5 separate regions of the Homo sapiens genome follow, and all the other regions are linked to region 1. The links are contacts of gene promoters, found by promoter capture Hi-C in human tissues and cell types (Jung and others, 2019). All regions are on one chromosome and are shown on one strand. The core of a region is centred on a gene start or on the middle of the fragment in contact, and the rest is flanking DNA. Distances in the headings are between cores, read along the strand shown. Region 1 holds the start of AIP (AHR interacting HSP90 co-chaperone). Region 2 holds the start of SLC29A2 (solute carrier family 29 member 2). Region 3 overlaps RIN1 (Ras and Rab interactor 1). Region 4 overlaps PACS1 (phosphofurin acidic cluster sorting protein 1). Region 5 has its middle 6.3 kb from the start of NPAS4.

Region 1 (2,700 bases), core at 179-2,678:
ACTTAGCATATTGATGCTTTTTTTTTTTTTTTGAGATGGGGTCTCACTCTATCACCCAGGCTGGAGTGCAGTGGTGCGATCTTGGCTCACTACAACCTCCATCTCCTGGGCTCAAGCAATCCTCCAGCCTCAGCCTGCTGAGTAGCTGGGACCACAGGCGTGCACCACCACACCACCTAATTTTTTGTATTTTTGGTGAAGATGGTATTTTGCCATGTTGTCCAGGCTGGTCTTGAACTTGTGAGCTCAAGGAGATCCAGGAGATCCACTTGCCTTGGCCTCCCAAAGTGCTGGTATTAGAGGCATAAGCCACCACACCTGCCCCATACTGATGCATTTTTACATGACATTAGTGAATTCAATTAGCCTAGTATTTTATTTAGAATGTTTCATATCAGCTGGGCGCTGTGGCTCACGCCTGTAATCCCAGCACTTTGGGAGGCCGAGGTGGGCGGATCACGAGGTCCGGAGATTGAGACCATCCTGGCTAACACGGTGAAACCCTGTCTCTACTAAAAATACAAAAAATTAGCCGGGCATGGTGGCGGGCGCCTGTAGTCCCAGCTGCTCGGGAGGCTGAGGCAGGAGAATGGCGTGAACCCGGGAGGCAGAGCTTGCAGTGAGCTGAAATTGTGCCACTGCACTCCAGCGTGGGTGACAGAGCGAGACTCCGTCTCAAAAAAAGAAAAACAAAAGTTGTTTTAGCCCCAAAGTACCTCATTTCTCTTTTCTTTTAATTTAATTTTTTTTTTTTGTTTTGTTTTGAGACAGCATCTCGCTCTGTCGGCTAGCCTGGAGTGCAGTGGCACGAACACGGCCCACTGCAGCCTCGAACTCCTGGGCTCAAGCGATCCTCTCGCCTCGGCCTCCCAAAGTGGTGGGGTTACAGGGCCACCGCGCCCGGCGCTAAAGTACCTCATTTCTATCATTCATCGATTATTCCCTAATATTAATTGGGCACAACTATGACTCATTTCCGACCCCGCAATGGGCTCTCTTGGTCTCCTTCTCCACCTTTCTTTCCCTCTTCCTCTTTTTATTTTTTGAAAGAGGAAGATCCAGGATGCAAGAGTCCCGACAATCATACTAGATATGCGAAAGAGAAAAAGCCGGAAGAAAATACACAAAAATCATAACACTTTGAGGGTGTGGCTTACGGGTGTTTTTTTTTTTTTTCATTTTCCTAACTCTGCAGTGCTGTTATATTCCATCCACAACTTCAAACAAAGTGCCACACGGCCGCAGTCCCAATCAATTCAATGACAATTGTTAGGGACGTCCTCGTCCCGCCCGGCCCGCGGACCCCGGCCCTTCCTCCTTGACAGGCTGGGGTCCAGCCCCGAGACATTCCTAGGCTCCGCCCCCGAGCAGACGCGCGCGCTCAGCCCCAGCGCAGAGAACCAATCACCATCCGTTTCCACGCTCAGTCCCTTTTGGCTTCTGCCCTCAACCAAAATGGCGCTAGCTCGGAAGCTGCCGAGGTGCTAGGAGTTGCCGAAGCAAGTCCGGAAGCTACCGAGCGAGTCCGGAAGTTGCCGAAAGGGAGCAGCGGGGAAGGAGGATGGCGGATATCATCGCAAGACTCCGGGAGGACGGGATCCAAAAACGTGTGATACAGGAAGGCCGAGGAGAGCTCCCGGACTTTCAAGATGGGACCAAGGTTCGTGTCTACCCTACCCTTCTCCCCCTCTGCGGCGTGGTGCGCATGCGAGGCGGGAGGAGGCCTTAGGCGAGAGGTTGCGCATGCCCAGAGGGCAGCGTCCACTGCCCCTACCGCTCACATGCAGAACTCGACGCTGATTGGGCTGAATTTAAGTAGGGGGTGAATTCGGGCCTGTCTGCCCCGCCCCCTGGCTCGGCCTTGTAGCAGCATTGGTGGGGGAGGCCGTCAGTCATCACAAGCGGGTTGGGGTTGGGGGTTGATCTCAGTGCTTGGGCAGACCCCACGCTGGAGGAAACCCAGGGCCGGGAGTGGTCCTCGGGTATCTGGGTTTCAAGGCTCATGATCCTTTGTAGATGGAAGGGCCTTCTGAAAACACTTAGACCAACTGCCGCTGTTTAGAGTGGAAAACCAAGACCCTGGGACGTGCAAAGCCGGAGAACGGGCCCAGAGGTCAGGTCTCCCAGACAGGGACTCTTTAGCAGCCTTCCTGCTGCACTAGGGGCTTGTTGGGACAGATGAGGGTTGGGAAGTAAAGAACCTCCCACTTTTCTCCTTTTTGCCAGGCCCCCAGATCCAGCCCCTCTGCCCGCTTCTCCCCCAACCTACAACTCCAGGCTTCCCTGCTTCTCCTGTAGTTGCCTCCTCCCGGAGTGCTTTTCCCAGCTGCCACTTGTTTGCAGAGTAGGGAACCTCCCAGGGGCAGCCCCTGTGCCCAGCAGAGCAGTCAGGCAGGACATGCACATTGAGCAAATGAGCACATGCCCCCTGGCCAGCACCGTGCCGAATCGGGCAGCTAAGCATCCTAGCCCAGTGCAGTATAAGTGCCCTGAGAGCAGAGGGGAGCTGCATGGCTGGAGTGATCCGCTGTATGAAAAGATATCTTCTCTAAGAAGAGACAGGATGTGTGGTGTGGGTTCATGCCCCCATGTGCTGGGGGGTTGGTGGCGTTGGAAGAAGGGGCTGGCAAGGGGGATCCTGGATGGAACAGACATCAGAAGGAGAGATGTGAACAATGGCACCCCAAGATCAGAAACAGG
Region 2 (2,844 bases), core at 60-2,559, 1.1 Mb before region 1:
AACCCGGTCCCAAAGACAATGCAAACCCCACATTTCTGCCTTCCCTGAAGAGCCTCCCTGCTGTTTCCTCCTGTGTCCCCAGTGCCTGCTCCACAGTAGATGCACATTAAAAGTTTGTTGAATGAGGCTGGGCACGGTGGCTCACGCCTGTAATCCCAGCACTTTGGGAGGCCGAGGCGGGAGGATCACGAGGTCAGGAGATCGAGACCATCCTGGCTAACACGGTGAAACCCCGTCTCTACTAAAAATACAAAAAAAAATAGCCGCGCGTGGCGGCGGGCGCCTGTAGTCCCAGCTACTCGGGAGGGTGAGGCAGGAGAATGGCGTGAACCCGGGAGGCGGAGCTTGCAGTGAGCCGAGATGGCGCCACTGCACTCCAGCCTGGGCGAAAGAGCCAGACTCTGTCTCAAAAAAAAAAAAAAAAAAAAAGTTTGTTGAATGAATGAGTGAATGAATGAAATTCATGGTATTTCAAAGAAAATCAAACGTTCGATAACCGACTTTTGGGGTGACTGACTCAGGAATAACGACACACAGAGAGGGGTGGCAGCGCCTTTGCTCATTCCAGACCCTGTGGGCTGGTGGCCTTGCCCCTCTGAGATGTGGGCATTGCTGAAGTTCTACTTTCCTAGCCACGGGGGAAGCATTCCCCTCTCCGAGCTTCAGCCCATAATGAGCTCAACGAGGGGTCACAGGTGCGCGGTGAGGAAGCGCCCGCTAAGCTTCATCCAAAGGGCTGGAGGGAGGGGTGCTGGCTGTGGCCACGAGGCTGCCACGCCGCCAGGAGTCTCACCGGGATGGCGGTGATGAAGAAGTTCCAGGGAAGGAGGGTGCCCAGCCCCAGGATGAAGAAGCTGATCCCGACCAGGTGGTAGCTGTGGGGATCGGTGGGAAGGTCACCCCGAGGACGCACCCGCCTCCGCAGGCCCTCCCGCCTCCCAGGCCACCCCCTCCGGAGCGGACTACAACCCCGATCACCCCGGTTCCGGCGGCCGAGGGAGTCGGCTGATGGGAATTGTAGTTCGATCCGGTCTTCTCTGAGCCTCGGAGCGCCTTCAGGGAGCGGGTCTGCAACGCCCCCGGCCACTTGCAACGCACCCGGGCCCACTCACCTGTCCCGCGGGGCGTCTCCTCGCGCCATGGCCGCCGCGGCGGATGCGCCTGGGGTGAAAGGGGCAGAGAAGCCGCACCTGCACCTGCGCTGGGGCGGAGGGCCGCAGACCGGTGGGGCGGGGGGCGGGTCTCCCCAGATTCCGGTGCAGGGCGGCTGGAGTCGCACAGGTAGCCTCGGGCGGATTTCGGCGTGTCTCGCGCTCCGCAGGCTGGGACCTGGGCTCCGCCCCGAGGCGGGGACAGAGGGTCGCGCCACCCGTCTCTCCTTCCCCCACCCGCCTCAGGGACTCGACTCTGGCTCGGGCCCCGCCCCACCTAGGGGCCTGCGGAACCCGCCCGCTCCCCGCACAGCCCCTCCCCGCAGCCCCCCGTCCTCTCCGCGGGGGCGGGTCCCGGATCCCTGCGGCGGAGGGGAAGGCGGGGGTAGGGACGAGGTGTAACCTCACCTCCACCCCCCGCCGAGAGCTCTGTAGGGGCAGCACTGGTGCGGGGCTCTTCCCGCTTCGTCAGCTCCGAGGTGATGCCAGAGCCGCTCCTGCGACCCCTAAAGCTGGAACCCACCGGGGCGCCCCCTAACTAGGGAGCCGCTGCGGAGTCCCCGCCCAGAGCGTAACCCGAGCCGGGCCCGGGCGGGGGAACCAGAGCTGCCACAGGTCGCCCGCGATCCTGGCGGGCTTCGCCGCGCTGGGTCCCCGGGAGTGCCTGGAAAAAAACAGCATTACTTTCAACTCCCTACTCTTTTTCTGTTAAAAAAAAAAATTTGAAAAGACTATAAATCATTAATTTGCTCCTACTCTCATAATCTACGAATAGGTGTGGGTTCTCTGCAATCCCCGGGCGTATCGGGGACGCTGGAGAAGTGAGAGGCTCCAAAACACAAACTAGTTTTTTTGAGACTGAGTGTCGCTCTGTCGCCCAGGCGGAAGTGCAGTGGCGTGATCTTGGCTCACTGCAACCTCCCCCTCCCAGGCAGGTTCAAGCGATTCTGGTGCCTCAGCCTCAGGAGTAGCTGGGACTACAGGCGCATGCCACCACGTCCGGTTAATTTTTGTATTTTTAGTAGAAACGGGGCTTCACCAGCTCTACTGAAGAGGTGGCCAGTCTAGTCTCGAACTCATCTTTTGACCAGGCTGGTCTCGAACTCTTGACCTCAGGTGATCCGCCCGCATCGGCCTCCCAAAATGTTGCTATTACAGGCGTGAGCCACCACGCCCGGCCACAAACTATTTTCTTAAGCAATGACATTTTATAGCCATTCCCAGGTTGCTTATGTTTTTCCTCCAGCCGACTGAGAGTCTGTAGGGGCAGAGGCTGTGCTTATCTGGTCCATTGGTTTACTGGCAGCATCTAGCGCCGTTGAGTGATAAATGGGTGGTTGCAGTAAAATGCAGGTGATTTTAGGGAGAACAGAGACAGCATTAAATTACACCGAAAGAGAAAGTTATTCTTCCCATTTTCTTTCAAGCCTCTGAATATGTCAAGGGTGTTAACAGGTTGCTAACACTTCTTAATCTGCCTTCCCATCCCTTCCCCTCAGTTAGCCTCAGAGGGTCTGCTGACAATTTTATCAAAAGTTATTAACTTGTATTTTTCTTATATTTATTTTTATAGCAACTTTATTTTCAGGGCTACTCATACTGGTTTCCTATTTATGATTATGATATCAACTTTTCTTTGAAAAATCAATTTATTTATGGAAAATGAGTTATTTAAAGAAAAGCGAGGCCGCTG
Region 3 (2,700 bases), core at 67-2,566, 1.2 Mb before region 1:
GCAGCAGCTCCCTGTGGTGCCCCATCACTGGGGAGGGCAGGGAGGGGGTCAGGTCATGCTGAGCCTGGCAAGGGTGGGAAGGGCTTGTAGAGGCCCCAGAGCCTCATTCCCATGAGGCCAGTTGTACATCCGGCCCCTGGGATCCTCCGAGCACCCTCTACAAACATTCCAGGTCCTTCCTCTGGGACTGAGCTTGACACATCCCGTGTTTGATTCCCAGAACCGAGTCCTCCCTTATACTCCCCAGGTTTCTGCCTCACTGTCCCTCACTCCTGGTTATCAAACTCCAATCAGTGAACAACATTTATTGAACACCTATGGCATTTGTGCTCAGCATTGGACTGTGTGAGGCACTAGGGGTGAGTGGTGAAACAGGGAGGGGAATAGAAGAGCCAACGGGACACTTCCTATCAGCGAGAACCTTGGGAGGGCGTGGAAGTGGGGAGGGAAGAGCTGCTGGTGGCCTAGTGACAAAAAAAATGGGAGCCGTGCAACTGGGCTGTATCTGGACTGCTCATCTGAAAGTCAATGTCTGGCTGGGTGTGGTAGCTCACGCCTGTAATCCCAGTACTTTGGGAGGCCAAGGCGGGCGGATCACCTGAGGTCGGGAGTTTGAGACCAGCCTGGCCAACATGGGGAAACCCCGTCTCTACTAGTAACACAAAAATTAGCCAGGTGTGGTGGTGCACACCTGTAGTCCCAGCTACTCGGGAGGCTGAGGCAGGAGAATCACTTGAACTGGGAGGCGAAGGTTGCTGTGAGCCGAGATGGCACCACTGCACTTTAGCCAGAGCGACAGAGCAAAACTCCATCTCAAACAAACAAACAAACAAAAAAACCCAAAAAGCCAATGTCCACGATTTCTACCTCCCAGTTGTCATGTCTGACATTTGGGCTGACGTCCCCTCTGTGCTCAGTGCCCGAGGAGAGAGCCTCTGGGGTCATCCTCCATAAGGGGACAATTCCTTCCTTCCTGGGGATGGCCCCCAAGAGGCTGGCCTTACCCAGACCCCAGAATCTAAGGGACCTGGGGGCCAGTGGCCTTGGCCCCTGCGCTGTCCCCAGGTTGCCTGATGCTGCTGGACTGCAAGGCCCGGGACCCCCTCTGCTGCTGCAGCCTTGGAGGCGCCCTCACCCCTGGGTGGTCACCCTCTCGGCAGATTCCCGGGCCGTGCACACCCCCTCGTGGTTGGTGGTCGGCACTTTTCCTTGTTTGGATTTGCTGCCTGCTCTGGGCTTCCTTGGGGGCTGCCCCGGCCTTTGTGGGTGGCTTAGAATGGAGGGTGGAGTTGGAACCTGATGCCCTGGTTTGGGCGGGGGAACCCTTAAGGACTTGCTATATGACATCCTGGGAGTCACTTTCCTGACCCTCAGTGGGCCCAACAAGTCATGGCCAAGTAAAGCTTTTGTGAGGGCCAAGAGTTTAGTGCAGAGAGCATGGTTTCTGAGCCCCCTCTCCATTCTGGAAGCTTATCTGCCAGCTGGTGGATCTCCCCAGAGATGCTGGAGGGCCTGGGAGGACTCCAAATCTTGGGGAGAGACTGTAACTTGGGTACTTTCTCCCCAGGGCCTGATTTCCAGGGGAATAACCTCCCTGAACTGGGCATCAGCAGGTGGGAGCCCTGTCTGGCAGAGAGCGGACTCCGGGAGAGAGTTAGCAGCCCAGCTCTCTCCCTCCCTTTCTGCCATGAGCTCTGCTTGTAGCAAAATCACCCATTTTGATCACTGGGACACTTCTGGGAGCCGAGCAGGGCAGCAATAGTGTCCCCACTTTACAGATGAGAGTACTGAGGCTTGCAGGTGCAGGTCCTTCTGGTGTCCAGGACAGGGGTGGGCCCCAAGCCTTTGCTGCTGTTCTGTGGCCTCTCTAAATCCTCCTGACACCTAAGAGCCATTGGAACCTTTTAGGGTCTGGAAGTCCCAGCCTGGTGGGAGATACTTGGGTGGAGCCCTGCCTCAGCCATGCCCATGAGGGGAAGGGTAAAAGGAGCTGAGACCGTCACCCTCCCCACGTCAGAGGTTGGGCATCTGTCGGATTCGCCCCCACTTGGCACACCCTCATTGCAGGCTGGCTCACCCTCAGCTGGGGGAGAAGAACAAGAGGCAAGGGGCCTTGGGCACACAGTCTGGGGGCCCCCGAAGCCCCCTCATCTTTATTCCAGTTCCTCAGATGTGGCAGTTCCCCCAGCTTCCCTGGAAACAAGTATCAGACAAAGGTGGTGGCAGACACAGGACAGGGCCCTGGGTGGGGCTTGCTGGCGCTAAAAGGATTTCTCAGCAGGCTCAGGGTCTCCCGCCCCGAATGACCCTTCTGGCCACTTCAAGCTACTCCTCTGCTGCCCGGCTTCCCTCTGCCTCTGGTTCCCCTGGCTGAGCAGGGCCTTCCTGGGCTTGACCCTGGCCCCCTTCAGCAGTTGTCTCAGACTGTTCCCGAATGTCCCTGGGGCTGGCTTTGACCCCAGCATCCCCATCTCCCTGGCACCCTTGCTCCTCCCCTCTGCTTCTTGCCTCTGACTGCCCACTGCCCTCCTCCTCTGTCACAGCCCCCTGGGTCTCAGGCCACTCCGCCCGGCGGTAGACGAGGTAGCCAGTGGTGGGCAGCCTGTGGGCCAGGGCCCCAGGGGGCAGGCGGTGGTAGCCCTGCTCCTTGTACAGGAAGAGGCCAAAAGTGTTGGGCTGGGTCACTCGGAACTTGGTGGC
Region 4 (2,827 bases), core at 37-2,536, 1.4 Mb before region 1:
CATGATCTCGCCCCTGTACTCTAGCCTGGGCAACAGAGTAAGACCCTGTCTCAAACAAAAATGGGTGAATAGAGAATGTTCTAAGTCATTACTTTCCTTGTGTTGAGGTAGATGGTGAGGCATAGGTGATAAAATAGTGTTGATGGCAGGTTTGTTTATTTAATTTTGTGCAGATCCTTTTAAATTGTAAGTTTGTTTTTTTTTTTTTTTTGAGACGGAGTTTTGCTCTTGTCACCTAGGCTGGAGTGTAAAGGCGCAGTCTCGGCTCACGGAAACCTCCGCCTCCGAGGTTCAAGCAATTCTCCTGCCTCAGCCTCCCGAGTAGCTGGGATTCCAGGCATGCACCACCATGCATGGATAATTTTGTATTTTTAGTAGAGACGGGGTTTCACCATGTTGGCCAGGCTGGTCTCGAACTCCTGACCTCAGGTGATTCACCTACCTCAGCCTCCCAAGGTGCTGGGATTACAGTTGTAAGCAACCATGCCTGGCCAACTGTAAGGTTTTTAAGGTACAACAAAGGTTGGAATATTTGAGTTTAGTGCTAGCTTCAACAATTTTTCTGAATCTCAAATATCGTTCTTCCTCTTTTCTCCTTGTGAGTAATGATCTGTGTCCACTCTCAGATCAACCTGGGCTCCCTTCATCCTTTCAACACTTTCAGTACTTTTAGTTTTGTAAATACAGTGGTATCCACAGGTCATTTTGGCAAAAACACTTTTTAGAACTGTATGCGTCTTAGAAATTGTGATGTGGGTAATTTGCTGTGTATGTTTTTTAGTGACCTCGTATAAATATAGGTAGATGTGAAAGGAGTGACGCCTTAAATTTGCTCCCTACTGTAACACCTGTTCCCTTCTTTGTAGTCTGTGTAACTCCTCCAAATGACAGATCTTTTGGACACATTAGTGGTTATGTGATTTCTTTCTAAACTAGTTTTCCAAACTACCTCTCAAAACTTTATTATGAGTAGGATTTCCCCCAGCTAACATTTTGGGTATGACTGGCATGTTAATTGTCTCTGAAGGATTTTAGACTGGTTATTTTGTTTTTGATTTTGAGATAGGCTCTCACTCTGTTGCCCAAACTGGAATGCAGTGGCATGAACACAGCTCACTCTGTTCAGCCTCAACCTCCTGGGTTCAAGTGATCCTCCCTCCTTAGACTCCCAAGTAGCTGGAACCACAGGCACATGCCAACATGCCCTGCTAACTTTTTAATTTTTTGCAGAGACAAGGTCCCACTATGCTGCCCAGGCTGATCTCAAACTCCTGGGCTCAAGCAATCCTCCCGCCTCAGCCTACCATAGTGTTGGGATTATAGGCGTAAGCCACCGCACCCAGGCTAGGCTGGTTATTGTGCTGAGATATAGGAAGGCGTTTTTTCTTTTCAGCTGTTTTCTTTTCTTTTTCTTTTTGAGACAGAGTCTTGCTCTCTTGCCCAGGCTGGAGTGCAGTGGCGCTATCTTGGCTCACTGCAACCTCTGTCTCCCGGGTTCAAGTGATTCTCCAGCCTCAGCCTCCCAAGTAGCTGGGATTACAGGTGCATACCACCATGCCCGACTAATTTTTGTATTTTTAGTAGAGACAGGCTTTCACCATGATGGCCAGGCTAGTCTTGAACTCCTGACCTCAAGCCCGCGTCAGCAGATTACTGGCGTGAGCCACCGCCCAGCCTCTTTTCAGTTGTTTTTCTGAAACATTGTGTGTGTTTGTGTGTGAGTATGTGCACTTCTGTATCTGTCTGTGAGTTTTCTTTTGTTCCTCTTGGTAGGTGAGACATTCTTTGTAGCAGGTTTTTTTTTTTTTTTTTTAATAGTTTATTGCTGGGAAAAGGTCTGGGTAAAAAAAAAAAAAGTTTAGAACACACTAAGGCTTGGGGCATCAGTCATCATTTACTGATCCCTCCTCACTAACCTTTTCCTGCCTCTTGTTTACAAACACCAAATGGCTTCAGGGTTTAGGGAGCAGCTTTTCCCTTCTGTTTTTCTGTTTTATGGTACCTCTCAAACACATTGCATTGTAATCCCTCCCAACCTCTGCCACCTTAGTCCTTCCCAGAAAGTAACCACTAGTGGCAGTTCAGAGTGATATTTTAAAATGAAAATCAGAACTTGTCACACCCCCTCTATAATCTTCCAGTTCATTCATTCAGCAAAAGCTTATAGACCAGCTGATATGTGCCGCAAGCAAAATCCTTGATCTCATGAAGTCTGCATTCTAGTGGGTGAAGATAAGAGACACCATCCAGTAACTTTCCGTCATACTTAAAAAAGATCCCCTTTTCATGGTTCAGGAGATGCTAAACGATGCAGCCCCTTCCCATGTCTTTGACCTCACCTTTGCGTTCTCCCCTTGTTCCTGCGGTGGGTCACCCTCGCCTTAGGGCTTTTGCACTTGCTGTTCCCTCTACCTGTGATACCCTTTCCCTGGATCCTTGGATCGCTGAGACTAGCTCCTGGGTATCATTCAGCTCTTCACTGACCTGCTACCTTGGAAGGCTGTCCTCACCTGCCCAACCCCTTCTGGGAGTTTATAAAGCTACTTCACACCTACTCGCCATTACTGGAAATAATCTTGTTCCTTTATTTAGTTACTTTATAGATGCTCAATAACTACATTTGTCAAATCAATGACACTGATTTTCCTATAGTGTTTTATAATGTTTATTGAATGACTATCTGTTATGCACAATTCATCCATTCACCAAATATTTACTGAGTGTTTCTGTGTGCCAAGCACTGATCTAGGCTCTGGAGAAGCAGCAGCAGACAGGCTGACAAAGTCCATTCTCTCCCGGGGTGTGCTTTCTGGTGGGGGTGACAGAT
Region 5 (2,700 bases), core at 77-2,576, 1.1 Mb before region 1:
GGGCTTACCAGAGGCAGGCCTGGGGGATGGCCTGGGCCCTGCCTCACAGCCCTGGGTGCAGTTGGCTCCTCCTCACTGGCTGCTCTGCTCAAGGCTAGGCTTGGACCCATAGCATAAGTCCTAGAGCCAAACCTCCTGGCCCTGACAGAGGCTGCCCTCTCTCCACTTTTGCTGCATGTCCCTGTTAACACAACCTCAGCTACAGTGGCTTCTTTTGTGGCTACCTGGCACTGTGTTGAATCTCATTTATGAGGCCACACTCCTCTGTCCACCCAGCCACCCACCCAGCACAGCCTGGCCCAGTCAACACTGACTTGCCACCAGCAGCTCAACTCAAATGCACCTGCTTGGGGAGGCCGGTGCCAACTCCTCAGGCAGGGTCACCCCTCCTTTTGCTCTCCCCAAACTCCCAGCATGCCTCCTTGACAGCAGTATCCCACTGAAGTGGCTGGATGGACCCCTTGCTCTCTCACCAGCCTGCAGGTTCCATGAGGCCAAGACCAGCTGTCTGTGGGCACCATCACATCACTGCAGAGGCTGGCACAAACTCTGCCCTCAGCTGTTTGTTGCATGAATGACTTACATGCCTGAGCCCCTGCCCTGTGCCAGGCCTTGTGCTGGATGCTGGGAACATGAAGACCAGTTGTAGATGCTGGTAGGGGAGACAGCCAAGTAAACACACAGGGACAATGCAGGGTGCAGAGTGCGGTGACGAGGAAGCACAGGGGCTGGGGGGCACTGAGGGGGTCCCCGGACCTCACTGGAGGACCAGAAGGGCCAGAATTTGCCAGCTGGGAGTGGTGGTGGAGAGGACTCTGAAAATGAATGTGAGGAAAATCCGCCTCCTCCAGCCTCCCCAGGGCAGGTCAAGAGTATTGGTCGCTGCTCTGCATTTGAAAAGTGGCTTTAGTTGATTAGGTTTCTTTCCCCTCTTGGAATGTGGCTGCTCTGACTTGCTCCTCACTGCATTCCTTGCATCCTCTTCTCTCAGCCCTGCCTTCAGGACATTGCCCACAAAAGTTTCATCTTTTCCCACCTGGGCTCTACTCTCCCTCTCCCACCCCCTCCATGGTTCTATGTCCCTCACCTTCCTGGCTTTCAGCTCATTCACCCAGCTCTGGCCGTCTCAATGCGTGGGTGCCAGCCTGCACCCTCTTTACATGAGCTTTGTTGATTTCATAACCATAAATAGATAAAATGTTCTGAATGCTTTCATGTGCAAGTAGAATTGAGGGAGTGATAGCATAATGAAAAGGCCTCAGGAAAAGGAAAACAGCTTGCTAAGATGCAGCGGAAGACAACACGGTCACTGCACAAGCCAGCTCTGCGTGGGTTTCCTATTCTCACTGCACTGACCGCGGAGCCATGGACGCAGGATGGGGAGGTGCTTAGGAATCTGTTAGAAAACCTTTCCCTGGTTTCAAATCCACCAATTCAAAAGAACAACCTAGAAAAAAAACAGTAGAAGTCAGGAAAACCTGGGTTCAATTGTGGATTTATCTCATTCTAGCTGTGTGATCCTAGGCAAGTTAATCAACCTCTCTGAGAAGGCATAGAGAGATTCTTCCCCCCTGGGTCAGACTGGAGGCTTCGGGAGGCCCAATATCCCACAATACCTTCCTTTTCCTCCCATATGTAAATTTTGTCTTCCTGACAATTCGTTAATCACCAGCCCTGAGACCCCCCTGCCCAAAATGCAGTCCTGAAGACTAGGGTCGGAATAGGGATGGAATGGGGTACCCTGCCTCCTCATTGCCTGTTCCAACTCCTGGTGCAGGAAGTGGAGCATCATCCTGCATGGGGAGGGTACATCTCCACAGCCACAAAAGGGGCTGGAAACCAATAAGGAGCCTGACCCATTGGGCTTCCCACCTCTCCTCCTTTAAGTTGTCCAGGAGCACTACTTCTCCATGGCCTTTGGAACAGTAAAGGGGGCTGAAATGATAGCTTGGTATACCCTGGGTTAAGAGAGCTTTCTGGGTGAGAAAGAGAAACAAGTGGAGATATTCCTGGTGTGAACTCATCCTCTGGTCTAAGGATGGCACGCTTTTTCTCTAAAGGATCAATTAGTAAAAAGTGTCAAAAAGTTCTTTAGGCTTTTTGAACCATATGGTCTCTGTTGCAACTACTCAGCTCTTCCATTGTAATGTGAAAACAGCCATAGACAATGAGTAAATGAATGAATGTGACTGTGTTCCAATAAAACTTTATTTACAAAAGGAGGCAGCAGGCTAGATGTGGCTAGATTTGCAGTCCATAGTTTGTAAACCCTAGCCCTATCACGTGGTGCAAAAGAGAAAGCTTGGGTTGGGAGCAGGAACTAGGGGTGAGGCTCAGCATTGCCAGACTTGCTGTGTGACTTTGATTAAGTCATTATCTATCTCTGAGCCTTTGTTTCACCATCTATCAAATGAGCATCATAATATCAGTCAAGGCTGGGTGTCGTGGCTCACACGTGTAATTCCAGCACTTTGGGAGGCCAAGGTGGGAGGATTGCTTGAGGTCAGGAGTTCAAGACCAGCCTGGGCAGAAAAAATTTTTTTAAATTATCTGGGTGTAGTAGTTTATGCCTGTAGTCCCAGCTACTCGAGATCCTGACACAGAAGATCATTTCAGCCCAGGAGTTTGAGGTGGCAGTGAGCTATGATCAGGCCACTGCACTCTAGTCTAGATGACAGAGCAAGACTGTATATAAATAAC

Evidence for each region. The method cuts DNA at HindIII sites, captures the fragments that hold promoters and counts their contacts. A contact is called where the count stands out against the background at its distance.
Region 2: the fragment with the promoter of SLC29A2 here is called in contact with the fragment with the promoter of AIP in region 1 in 1 of the 25 tissues and cell types used here (spleen).
Region 3: a fragment that was not itself captured here is called in contact with the fragment with the promoter of AIP in region 1 in 1 of the 25 tissues and cell types used here (spleen).
Region 4: a contact is called between a fragment that was not itself captured here and the fragment with the promoter of AIP in region 1, in 1 of the 25 tissues and cell types used here (spleen).
Region 5: a fragment that was not itself captured here is called in contact with the fragment with the promoter of AIP in region 1 in 1 of the 25 tissues and cell types used here (spleen).

Annotation. Positions count from the first base shown.
Region 1 is chr11:67,481,598-67,484,297 of GRCh38, forward strand. AIP (AHR interacting HSP90 co-chaperone) reads left to right here and starts at 1,429. Exons shown (of 6, transcript NM_003977.4): 1 at 1,429-1,660. The coding sequence starts at 1,562. RefSeq lists an enhancer at 1,271-1,330. The HindIII fragment of the contact is 17,225 bases long and covers 931-2,700 here.
Region 2 is chr11:66,370,451-66,373,294 of GRCh38, forward strand. SLC29A2 (solute carrier family 29 member 2) reads right to left here and starts at 1,310. Exons shown (of 12, transcript NM_001532.3): 1 at 1,113-1,310; 2 at 794-875. The coding sequence starts at 1,141. RefSeq lists a silencer at 1,006-1,765. The HindIII fragment of the contact is 13,916 bases long and covers 1-2,844 here.
Region 3 is chr11:66,329,951-66,332,650 of GRCh38, forward strand. It overlaps RIN1 (Ras and Rab interactor 1), which reads right to left. Exons shown (of 10, transcript NM_004292.3): 10 at 291-2,700. The coding sequence ends at 2,326. Among named protein-coding and RNA genes, the nearest start is that of RIN1, 5.1 kb to the right of the region's middle. The HindIII fragment of the contact is 6,220 bases long and covers 1-2,700 here.
Region 4 is chr11:66,077,509-66,080,335 of GRCh38, forward strand. The region is part of intron 1 of PACS1 (phosphofurin acidic cluster sorting protein 1); the gene reads left to right. Among named protein-coding and RNA genes, the nearest start is that of PACS1, 8.6 kb to the left of the region's middle. RefSeq lists an enhancer at 562-681. The HindIII fragment of the contact is 3,642 bases long and covers 1-2,827 here.
Region 5 is chr11:66,413,408-66,416,107 of GRCh38, forward strand. It overlaps a transcript of NPAS4 not described here. Among named protein-coding and RNA genes, the nearest start is that of NPAS4, 6.3 kb to the right of the region's middle. RefSeq lists enhancers at 159-677, 678-1,196. The HindIII fragment of the contact is 7,963 bases long and covers 1-2,700 here.